Regions from separate parts of the Homo sapiens genome. Here all the other regions are linked to region 3. The links are contacts of gene promoters, found by promoter capture Hi-C in human tissues and cell types (Jung and others, 2019). All regions are on one chromosome and are shown on one strand. The core of a region is centred on a gene start or on the middle of the fragment in contact, and the rest is flanking DNA. Distances in the headings are between cores, read along the strand shown. Region 1 holds the start of MKRN2 (makorin ring finger protein 2). Region 2 holds the start of TSEN2 (tRNA splicing endonuclease subunit 2). Region 3 overlaps ATG7 (autophagy related 7).

Region 1 (3,957 bases), core at 485-2,984, 1.2 Mb before region 3:
TAAACAGAAGTGATCCCTTCTCAACATTCCAACCCAATCTTCATTTATATGGAGCAACATCCTACAGAACACCCCTGTTTGGGAAACAGAATTAAAGCTTTCAAGTCAAGCTATCTCCAGGTATACAAGGAAAAAACCAAGATGATCCTGATTTAGGTCCTTGTGCCTCTACTAAGGTGTAAAATTTTAGGCAAATTTCAAGTCTTTCTGAGCATAAGATTCCTTATTTGTAAAATAAGATACTACAGAGTTGAGATTCAATTATAAAGCATTATTACATAAATGTGTACTGTTTTGTGGACACTTCTTAGATGAGGTACGGGAATAAATGGTAGAATTAAACCATAGAGCGAGGGGAGGAATACAGAGGTTTTTCTAGGAGGCTACAAGCTGCTTTACAGTGCACAATGACCTAGGAATACTTCCTCCAGCAGGAGAAACTTTATACAAATAAAAATACGTAAACACACACAAACCCGTCTTCACAAAACACCTTCTAGTACAAATAACCTAGTAAAAGTCTTTTTATAGACACTAGGTGCAAATTTCTGACAACAGCTTAACATAAGCCACCTGGGCCTTGGATAAATTGAACAGTAAATGTACACTAATGCTAACAGAAAACTTACTACACAGTCACGTCTCAACTATTCATACCAATGAAGAGAAGTAACAACATAGAAAATAAACTGTTTATTACACAAACTCTATAACTGTTTTTAAGCAATGTTTCCCATAAAAATTATTAAATGAAATTTGCATTTTCCAAGCATACAATTCAATTTGCGTTTTCCAAACATACAATTCAATAGGACTAGACTCCATTACCAGTAAGCCACAAGCTGACCAAGCAATGAGGGTGTTACACAACCACACTATTCTATTTCATAGGAGCAGTCGTAGTGTAGCTATCTGGCTATTTTCTACAATAAACCATCCATTACCGTCGCATTTCTCCTCGTAAATGGCTCTCTCAGTAAGATAAATGAGTGTCAACGTCTTTCGGTCTCAGTTTCCTGCACTGTAAAATGGTAATAATAACTACTAAGTTGTCTTACTGTGAAGTCTGATGATAATGAATATAAAGGACTTGGAAATATGCAGGGCGCTTCGCCGATATTCACAATATGCTACCTGTCGTTATTTTCCACACAACAACTTTTACTTGTTAACTCTCTGCAAGTTTAGATTGCATCTGGATTCTCCAAACTTTGAGGCCCTCATAATCGATTAACAAATTACTCCTATGTGGTATCCCCATTTGTAACCGTCCTCTCGGCGTCCCTTTACTCAACTTCAAATCTTTTCCAGTTAAAGCGTAAGCCCCAGAGCCTTCCCGACAGCGCCCCGGCATCCTGCACGGCCCTGGCTAGGACGTCCTTCCTCCCAGCCCACAGGGGCCACGCTTCAAACTCGGGGCGTAGCCCCCCGCGCTGGCCTCGCCCAGCGTCTCGGCCACGCATCCCCCGGATCCCCGGCTGTGGCGGCAGCGCTCGCTCTGCCTCGCAAAGCCCCGCCGCGAACAGCCGAGTAACTTTCCGAGTCCCGCTCTAGCCTCAGGTTCCCGGACCACAGCACTGGCGCGCACCGGCCCCCCTGCGGCCTGGGGGAGCGGCCCGAAGCTCCTGGCTCCAGCGCACTGACCTGCAAGTGATCTGCTTGGTGCTCATGGTGGCTGGGCTGAGGGACCGTCGTCGTGCCGCCGCCTCTCGCAGCCGCTGCCGCCTCGGCCTTGGCCCTGGCCCGGCCCATCCCGCGTAGCCGCGTCACGCCGGCGCACGCCGGCGCACGCCGCCCCTCCGGTGTGGCACCTTTGTAGCGCCGGCGGGTAACCTAGCCGTCGTCACAATTGGTTCCGCACCGGGGATCGGGCCGGCTGTCCCGGCATCCCTGCTCTCGGTGTCCCGCACTTCCAAGCCTCCGGGGCGGAGCCTGGCTGGCATCTTAGTCCTGCCAGTCTTATCCCGATGCCTACTGTTAGTGCCTGCGATTCTGCCCCGATCGCCAAGAGTATTCCTTAGGGATCTCCCGCCTCCTTCGAGGCACTTCACCACTCCTGGGGAAACTCCAGCCTCTCCTCTTAATCCCGGATGCCCCTATCCATTCATACTCGCACTCACTGGGCACCCTTCTCAGGCCCTGCCTCAACTGTTCCCGCCGGACCTCGCCTCCCACTTAAGGAAATTCCTTAGCTCTCTCCCAACTGCTCTTTCCCCAAATCTCTACTTCCACAAGTTTTAGTCTTCATTTTCTTTCCTGCCAGTCTTGTGCTGCTCGTCTTCCATTTCCTATGGTGGAAACCCCAAAAGTTATTTTTGACACTTCCCTCTAGCTCTCTATACCCTGCAGATTCTGCTCCCACACCTCTGTCCAATGCGTCCTCTTCTGCCCCCTTTCCACCGTCCCTTCTACCTAGCACCATGCGATACCTTTTTTTTTAATTATTATTATTTTATTTTTTATTTTTTTGAGACGGAGTTTCTCTCTTGTTGCCCAGGCTGGAGTGCAGTGGGGCGATCTCGGCTCACTGCAACCTCCGCCTCCCGGGTTCAAGCGATTCTCCTGCCTCTCAGCCTTCCACGTAGCTGGAATTACAGGCGTGCACGCCTGGCCAGCCATGCGATAGCCTTTTAACTGGTCTTCTGGCTTCCGTTCCTGGTAAAAATCTATTTTTAAAACATAAATCGGATCATGTCATTCACCTTTTAATCTTACAATGGTTTCTCATTGCTTAAAAACTCGAGATACATAACATGCACAATATAAGTGCACCAAACACATTCTATGAATTTTTGCACATGCATACACTCATGAAACTACCACCCAGATCAAAATAAAGAATTTTTTGTTTTGTTTTGAGGCAGGGTCTTGCTCTGTCGCCCAGGCTGGAGTGCAGTGGCGCCATCATAGTTCAAGCAGTCCTCTGCCTTAACCTCCCCAGCAGCTGGGAATACAGGTGCGCGACACCATGCTCGACTAAACTTCAAAATGCTGGAGTAAGGAGAGGTTGAGCCGGAAGGATCCTTTGAGCATAGTTCACTGCAGTCGAGGCTGCAGGGGGTGGGTGGGGGCTGGATATTATCGACACCCCAGAAGGGCTTCCTTATGGTCCTTCCCAGGCAATACTTTACAAAGGTCATTGCTTGGGTTCATCTCTATCACTATAAATTAGTTTAACTGTTCTTGACTTTCATATAAATAATAATTCAGTACCTACGCTTTTGTCTGCCTTCTTTTGACCAACATTTTATCTGTGAGATCTTTCCATGTTATGTATGTATAGCTGTATGTTCTTTTTTTACTTTGCTATAAAAATATTGAGTCTTCCAATGAATGAGCATGGTATATACTTCCAATTATTTAGAACTTTTGAAATTTTTCTCAGGAATTTGGAAGTATACTGGAAATTTTGTTTTCAGTGTCTTGAATATTGCATTTTAACTCATAACACATTTGATCCATGCAATTCATGCTCATAAAAATTACACGTCTTTTTTTTTTTTTTTTTTGAGACGGAGTCTTGCTCTGTCACCCAGGCTGGAGTGCAGTGGCATGCTCTTGGCTCACTGCAACCTCCACCTCCCGTGTTCAAGCGATTCTCCTGTCTCAGCCTCCGGAGTAGCTGGGATTATACAGGCGCACGCTGCCACGCCCAGCTGATTTTTTGTGTTTTAGTAGCGACGGGGTTTCACCCTGTTGCCCAGGCTGGTCTCGAACTTCTGAGCTCAGGCAATCCACCCGCCTCGGCCTCCCAAAGTGCTGGGATTACGGGCGAGAGCCACCGCGCCCAGCCCATGCCACTTATTTTTAAAATTCAGCTTATCTCATTCTTTATGGAATACATTCACGATCTGAACGTTATTATGTTCAAATATTTTAAAAGCGTAAAGTGAAAAGTCTCAGTCTCCTGTCAATTTAGTTCCCGCCTCTTCAAAACAAAAAGCAGAAACATTTTTT
Region 2 (4,195 bases), core at 1,119-3,618, 1.1 Mb before region 3:
ACCTGAAAGCATTATGCTAAAAGAAGTCAGACACAAAAGACCACGAGACAATTAAGATAAAGTTTCCGGAATAGACAAATCCATAGAGACAGATTACCAGTTGCCAGAGACAGGGAAAAGTGGGAAATGGGGGGGCGACTGCTAATAAGACAGGAGGTTTATTTTGGAGGGTGACGAAAATGTTTTAAAATTAGATTGTAGTGATGGTAATGGTTACATAACTCCGCGAATACGAAGACCACTGACTCGTACATTTCAGAAGGGTGACTTTTACAGAATTATATGGTATCTCAATAAAGCTATTTTAAAAAATTCAGAAGTAAAGACATTCCCCAGGCCATGTCCTGCAAGAATGACTTCACAGATACCAGCGTGAAGCTTCTAGAAAAGATAGAAAGAAACCCTCAGGGAAGGTAGAGCTCACTTCCCCAGGGGGAAAAATTCAAGAGGACAAATCAGATGATCTCTAGTTTCATGGAAGAGTCCTCCTGTGCTGAACTCGAAAGGCAAAGCAGAGGAGAAAAGACTGCATTTACCATTCCCCATATCTGCAATGGATATTCAAGAAGGTTCTTTAGTGTCGCGGCAGAACAGCATGCTGTAAGAGGTGGGATGTGAGTAAAATAAGAAGAGGAAACTGTCATAGGTAGGTACCAGATGCCAGAGGCACTCACTGCATGTGCTGCACATGTGGGTACTATAGTCATCCCTTGGTATCCACAGAAGGACTGGTTCCAGGACTCACCCCCTACCAAAATCCGCAGCTCAAGTCCCTTAAATAAAATGTAGTATTTGCATGTAACTTATGCCCATCCTCCCATCTACTTTAAGTCTTCTCTAGATTACTTAGAATACCTAATACAATGTAAATACTAAATAATTGTTATATATATATATTTTTAAATTTCTTTTTCCAAATATTTTTGATGCAACATTGGTTGAATCCACAGATTCGGAACCTGATAGCGAGAGCTGACTGTACTATCCTCATTCCACAGATATGAAAGAAGAGCGGTGCCTGAGGTGCACAAAAACATATAGGAAAGACTGGGTCAGTTGTCAAGAGGTTTGGGATGCAAAGGTTGGTTTGGAATTGGAGTCACTGCAGGTTATTTAGAATGATGATTGAAAAATGCAGATTAAGAAAATTAAACCTGGGAGTGGTACATCACACAGTGGCCCTCAAGCTTACCTACCCTTAACTCCTCATGCCCAGGCCTCACCTGCAATCAATTACATCAGAATTTCCTGGGTGGACCCAGCTGATTTTAACATATAGCTAACCACTGGTAACAGCAAGGTCTATTCAAATTCACTTAATCCCAGTAGCCCCCGGAGGTAAAGACTATTTTTATTTCCATTGTACAGATGTGGAAAGTGACTCGGAGGGGCCGGGCGCACCCCTGAGAAATCTTTACTTCTTATTTCCCCAACCTGCGCAACCTGACTCCAGAGCTGCATATTCTTACTTTCTATTAAAAGCAGAGTCTGTTTCTTATTCTTCCCTCGAGCACACAGGCTAACACCTCTTAGGTGATGGTAAATGTCTATTAGAAAAACAAAAAAGGGAGAGGTGGCTCCATTTAATTTTCCAACCTTCCTGGACTAGGTGCCAAACAAACCTGGTTAAAAAACCTCCTACCCAGCAAATCTCACCTTCTCCCAACCAAAACACGCTTCAAGCTCCATCTGCGCACCTCCTGGGCTTAGGGAGGCAAGGATGAAAGGCACAAGGTAAACAATCCTGCCTCTGGGGAGCTTTCAAGTTAGAACCTGAGAATAAGCCATATAAACAGATGACCAGCCTTTGAAAGTTGTTGTCAGGATTAAATGCATAATTTTGCAGAAGGCGTTTCGTTCGGGGCCTACCACGTGGAAAGCGCTCACCAGACGACAGCTGCAAATAAAATAAACTGCGCACCCCAACAGCGTTAGGGGCCCCGCCAATTCCTAACTCCCTGTCTTACCCCTTTGCTTCTTTCCTTGACTACCCCCACACCCGACCGAACTCCACCAGAGGCTGCGGCTCCTCTCGGGCATTGTCAGCTGCACCTTGCGCCCCAGCCCCACCAGCCCTGAACAAGGCGCCGGCGTTTCCAAGAACCAAGGGCTGCAGGCGCACGAGGAAAGCGCGGAGGAGTCAGTGACCGGGCGCACTCGGAAGCCTGGCTCCCCGTCCCGGCACTGTCTCGGCCGGCTGTGCGACCCCAGCACAGTACCTAGGCCCTTTCCTCTCTCGCCCTGGAGGACTTTCGGAAGAGCGAGATTTCCTTTCGCTGCAAAACACCAAACTCGGAAAGGGCCGCGCTTTCCTCGCCCAGGGCCCTTACCTTTCTTGGCCCCACGCGCTCGCCGTTACCCCGGCAACGCCGGCCGTGGGGCGGACACCGCTGCCGTCAAGCAGTGCGGCCGCAAAGCCAGCCGAGTGCGCAGCCGCAGAGCTCCCGTCGGGACTTGGCGGAGTGCGCCTGCGCACGGCCGGCTGGCGGGTGTTCTGTGCGCCAGCTCTGCCACTGCGGAGTATGAGGCGGAGGCTGCGTGCGCGCTTTGCTGCTCTCTGCAGGATTGTACGGAAGCCAGAACGATCCTGCAAGACGCATTTTACAGATGAGATGCAGTTACCCGTCAAATGTCACATAGTCACGTGGGAGGTGGGAGAGACCTAGAATCTTCGGCCCTCGGTGGATGGGATGTTTGAGGCGACCGACAGGACTTTATTAAATGGCCCTGAGGAAACTGATCTCATCTTTCTCAATGTAGAAAGAGGATCACAGCAGCGCACCTGTGTACGCTGCAGCATGCGGGGAACTTGCAAGGACGTTTTCTCTGGCAGACACCTGGCCAGAAGCCTCTGTGTGCCCAGACTGCCTGTGCAGTTAAGGGACAATAGGCGGCAGGTCCACCTGCTCTGCATCCCCATTTTCCCCCCTCACTGGCTGCGTGAGCTTGAATGACTGACAACCTTTCTGAGCTTGAGTTTACTGAAAAATGGGCCATCAGAATTACGGGAGATGAGCAAAACTGGAGTGCAATAGGAAGTGTAAGTTTCTCCTGACCTGGTTATTTTAAAGGAGCCCTGTGGGGAGTCCAATATATACTTTCCCAAATATGAATCACAGGAGTTCCACCACACAGACTAAGCAGGAGGCAAAGGAGGATGGCAAGGAAGTGTGGCAAATACTGCTGGAGAGATTCATGGTGCTAGATGTGATGATGGATGTTGAATTTTGGACTTCTGCCAATGTTCTTGCCTCCATTCCTTCACGCATGCTGTTGCCTCTATGTTCCCTCCCCTCTGTTAGCTGCAGTAATTCCTGGTCAGCCTTTAGGTCTCAGCTCAAATATCACCTCTTCCAGGAGACTTCTTGCCTTCCCAGACCTGCTTGGGTGACTTGCCTCTGTGCTCTGCAGTAGTCTGGCATGGCATGTGTTGTCCCTGTTTTTCTGGCCCTTTTTATTTTTTGAGACGGAGCCTGGCTCTGTCGCCCAGGCTGGAATGCAGTGGCACCATCTCAGCTCACTTACCTCACTGCAATCTCTGCCTCCCAGGTTCAGGTGATTCTCCTGCCTCAGCCTCCCGAGTAGCTCGGATTACAGGCGCCTGCCACCACGCCCGGCTGATTGTTATATTTTTAGTAGAAACGGGGTTTCACCACGTTGGCCAGGCTGGTCTCAAACTCCTGACCTCAAGCGATCCTCCCGCCTCGGCCTCCCAAAGTGCTGGGATTACAGGCTTGAGCCACTGCATCCTGCCTGGCCCTTTTTGAACTGCACTGTGGGCTTGCTCTTGGTAGAGTGAGATCATGTCGCAGCATTCAGTGGGTCCTCTGCTGCAAGGACCTTCACTGCTAGGCTAGGGAGTTCAGGTTTTAGATAAACCAAAATCAAAGAGCTTTGTGGTAAGAATGTTGCAAAAGAAAGGGAGAAAATTGGCAAGAGTCACAGGATATGGTAACAGGATGGATTGGGCAGGGGAGAGACAGCTGAAGAGAGGCTGTAATATCCGACCAGAACATGCCAATTTAAGAAATACTGGTTTTAGAATTAGAGGGCTTTAACAATGAAAGGGATTCAGAGGTTGTCCAGTTAAACTTCCTTATTTAACTGATAAGAAAACAGTTCCAGTGGCACTGTGAGTTGTCAGAGATAACCGAGCAGGTCTGAGGTGGGGCTGAGACTAGAGCCAGGTCTCTTA
Region 3 (4,045 bases), core at 1,503-4,002:
CAACTGCTCTACTAAACAACTTCATAACTGCCATGTTTTGTTGTCTCTGGCTATTATACATGCAATTCTCCACTGCCTGGAATTCCTTGTGTTCTCTCCCCTAGGTGTTTCTAGAAACTCCTACTTGACCCTTTAACATCAACTCAGAAGTCATCCTCTGCAAGGCCTTCCCTAGTCCTCCACATTTACAAAATTAATTGGTATTGGGATGCCGTAACAAGAGGACAGACCTTGCTGTAGGGCATTTCACAACTGAACAGATCATTATTGGCTTATGAGTCTGTCTCACCCTCTAGGCAGTGTTCCTTGAAGACAGTGGCTATTGTAATCATCTTTGTATCTCTGGCACACAGCAGGGACTCAAATGTCAGTTGAATTAAATGAATGTCTGCTAACAGATAACAGTTTAACCATTCCTTTCAAATCTATGATTTGCCTTTCTAAGTGGTGCATTTGCAAAGTCCTTAGGTGACAAGTTGCTTTGGGACAGAGGTTTCTCTTAAACATTTAAGTAGCTGGCTGAGCGCAGTGGCTCACGCCTGTAATCCCAGCACTTTGGGAGGTCGAGGTGGGCAGATTACAAGGTCAAGAGATTGAGACCAACCTGGCCAACATGGTGAAACCCCGTCTCTACTGAAAATACAAAAATTAGCTGGGTGTGGTGGCGCACGCCTGTAGTCCCAGCTCCCCAGGAGGCTGAGGCAGGAGAATCACTTGAACCCAGGAGGCGGAGGCTGCAATGAGCTGAGATCACGCCACTGCACTCCAGCCTCGCAAGTGAGCAAGACTCCGTCCCAAAACAAACAAACAAACAAACAAACAAACAAAAACACTATTTAAGCAGCTAAGTTGACTTTTTGTTATTTCATGCTTCTTTCTGGCGGGGGTTTTGGGGCATGGGCATGACAGAGTCTTGCTCTGTCGCCCAGGCTATAGTGCCATGGCATGATCTCAACCTCTGGGCTCAAGGATCTTCCCACCTCAGCCCCCCAAGTAGCTGGGACTACAGGCATAGGCCACCACACCTGGCCAATTTTTGTATTCTTTGTAGAGGCAGGATTTCACCATGTTACCCAGGCTGGTCTCAAACTCTTAGGCTCAGGTGATCTGCCCACCTCAGCCCCCACAAAGTGCTGGGATTACAGGTGTGAGCCACCATGCCTAGCCTTTCATGCTTCATAAGTAACAAGAAAACATGATAGAAGGTAGGTAGGATTATATAATATCAAAAAAATAAATGGACAGGCTGGCTATAACCAAGGCCAAAACAAAGTACGATTTACCAGCTGACATTTATTATTCCTACCTAACCCTTACCCTATCACTCTTCAAGATATATGCCCAGATACACACAGAAAGCTAATAGCAAGTCACTTTGAGGAGTTTAATCATAACCCATCAACAGAAGAACCTATTGCATAGTCAACACCAGAATGAGTGTATTATTAAGGTTGCTAATCACTGAAATCTCAAGATCAGGTTTCTGGGCACATCTTGCTGCATCTGCGCAGGTCCCAGATGGTATGCAAACCAAGTTTGGAGCCTGATTCTTCACAACAGGCTGTTCTTGCACTATCAAGAAGGTTGTGAGTAATAGAATTGTGCAACAAGAGCAAGAATACTCTGCACGCAGTCTCCTCCTGCACAGTCCTGCTCCTGACTCTGCAGGTCTGAAAAAAGGTTTTGGTCAACTTCTGGGTACCAGAAACAAGGTTATTATTGCAAAGAACACCTGAAGCTGCCTAGCTTTACTCCTTTTAGAGAAGGACTAGTCATAATATACAACATACTTCCCCTTCCCCCAGAATTGACTGGGAAAGGGTACCTGGGAACTTTCTGGAGTGATGGAAAAACACTAATATCTTGATAGGAAGAGTGTGGGTTACATGGGTGTATACATTTGTTAAAACTTACGGAGTTGTTTTAAGATTCATACATTTCACCATATATAAATTTTACCTAGGAAAAAAAGAACTATGCACAAATAGGAACTGAAGGTTCTAGGTTTATTTTCTGTAGTAGTATGGGCTAGCAATTTTGAAACTACTTCCTGTATTATTCTAGACTTCAGCAAGTGAGTAAATATATCCAGGATACGGCTGGATGCGGTGGCTCACGCCTGTAATCTCAGCACTTTGGGAGGCTGAGGCGGGCGGATCACGAGGTCAGCAGTTAGAGACCAGCCTGGCCAATGGAGTGAAACCCTGTCTCTACTAAAAATACAAAAAATTAGCCAGGCATGGTGGCAAGTGCCTGTAGTCCCAGCTATTTGTGGGGCTGAGGCAGGAGAATCGCTTGAACCTGGGAGGCAGGCGGAGGTTGCAGTGAGCCGAGATTGCAGGTTTCTCACTGTTGGAGAAGGTAGTCAGAAATATGGAAAAGGGAAAACTAGCATCACCGAAAGGTATATAATATATTATATAACTCCTGACATGAGGAGACAGCATCACTTCTTTGGTATTTCCACCAAAAATTCATAACCTGAATCGAATCATAGGGAAACATCAGACAAATCCACATGGAGGGAAATTCTACAAAAATAACTGGCAAAATATCAAAACACTGAAGTTAAGAAAGATAAAGAAAGATGAAGTAACTTTTCCAGATTGAAGGGAGCCAGAGACACGACAACTAAATGCAATGTTTGATCCTCAACTGGATCCTGGTCTGGAAGGAAAAAACCTATAATGAACATTAACTGGTATAAACAACAACATTGAATACACAGACTGTGGATTAGAAAATAGTATTGTGCAAACATTAAATTGCCTGAATTTGATAAGGATATTGTGTTTAGGTAAGAGAATGTCTTTGTTCTTTGGAATTCACATTGAAGCATTCAGTTTTAAAGGATCAGAATGTCTCCAACTTACTCTCAAAATTTCAAGAAAAAAATGGGGTAGGGGAAGGGAAGAAGGAGGGATTGGAGGACGACAGCAAATATACGTGGGGCAAAATGTTAACAATGGATGAATGTGGGTAAAGTGTATACCGGAGTTCCTTGTACTATTCTTCCAATGTTTCTGTTAAGCTTAAAATTATATCAATAGAAAGTTACCCAAAAATACTCTGCCAAAAAATATTTAGGTGAAAGTCTAACAATAACAAAGTAATTTAATGCACTACAGGAAATTCTTTCAGGAATATTGATTTTAAAAATTATACTTTTCCCTCTGGTAGTAACACCACAATACTCTAGTTAGCTTGGAATTTCTTTGTAGAAGTAAAGAGCAACTCATATAAACGTCAAATAAGGTCTTTTGAAATTTCATTGACAAATACCATCTGTTTAGAAAGTTCTGCAAGACAATAAGTAGAAACTGGAATGAAAGTGACTCCTCACCACCCACCTCTCCCCACCATCCTTCAATATTTTTCCCCTAAGATGGAACAATTCACCTCGTTATGTGCCAACCTAAGATCACATAGGATAAGAAATGATTTATGGATAAATGTTCCAACTTTCCTGCTTTAGAAGCAAAGCACTGTATTCTTCCCCACCTCAGGCTACATAAAAAGCTCTCGCTCGCGTGCGTGCGTGCTCGCACTCTCTCTCTCTATATATATGTGTATATAATGTATTGCTTTGTTTGTTTTTAATAAATAAGATAATGAACAAGTGCTTCACTATTCAGCAGAAACTTATTCTACTTCCCCAGTCTGTCTCTATTTGTGGTTAAATCAAGACACAAGCATGGCCTTGATCCTGGTGGGGAGGAGGAAACATACTGAAAACTACCAAAGGAAAAAATTACTTCATGAATGTCAAAGGATAAATTTTTAAAAGTAATTTTTAGCCCCAATCTTTTGAAACAACAACTATGACATGACTCTGTATAACATGTATTATACTAAATATACATTAAGAAAAATTCAAATACACAGAAATGAAAATGTAATTGGATTTGTCATTTTAAAGTATTAATGTTGGGTTTGCAGATAATAGAGAATGACAATCTCCTAAGCAAATAAAGAAGGTAGCCAAGTAAGTAAATGCTGCGTTTCTACTGTAAGGAAATACGTGCACCAATGAAGCAACCTTTCC

What was found. Contacts are between HindIII fragments. The study calls those that stand out against the background at their distance.
Region 1: the fragment with the promoter of MKRN2 here is called in contact with a fragment that was not itself captured in region 3 in 1 of the 25 tissues and cell types used here (aorta).
Region 2: the fragment with the promoter of TSEN2 here is called in contact with a fragment that was not itself captured in region 3 in 1 of the 25 tissues and cell types used here (dorsolateral prefrontal cortex).

What each region holds. Positions count from the first base shown.
Region 1 is chr3:12,554,864-12,558,820 of GRCh38, reverse strand. It overlaps MKRN2 (makorin ring finger protein 2), which reads right to left and starts at 1,734. Exons shown (of 8, transcript NM_014160.5): 1 at 1,645-1,734. The coding sequence starts at 1,670. It also overlaps a transcript of MKRN2OS not described here. RefSeq lists enhancers at 1,015-1,074, 984-1,507, 1,895-1,954, 2,005-2,114 and a silencer at 1,635-1,724. The HindIII fragment of the contact is 5,756 bases long and covers 1-3,957 here.
Region 2 is chr3:12,482,653-12,486,847 of GRCh38, reverse strand. TSEN2 (tRNA splicing endonuclease subunit 2) reads right to left here and starts at 2,368. Exons shown (of 12, transcript NM_025265.4): 1 at 1,968-2,368. RefSeq lists an enhancer at 2,025-2,444. The HindIII fragment of the contact is 10,904 bases long and covers 784-4,195 here.
Region 3 is chr3:11,381,800-11,385,844 of GRCh38, reverse strand. All of the region lies in intron 19 of ATG7 (autophagy related 7), which reads right to left. Among named protein-coding and RNA genes, the nearest start is that of ATG7, 110 kb to the right of the region's middle. The HindIII fragment of the contact is 5,508 bases long and covers 1-4,045 here.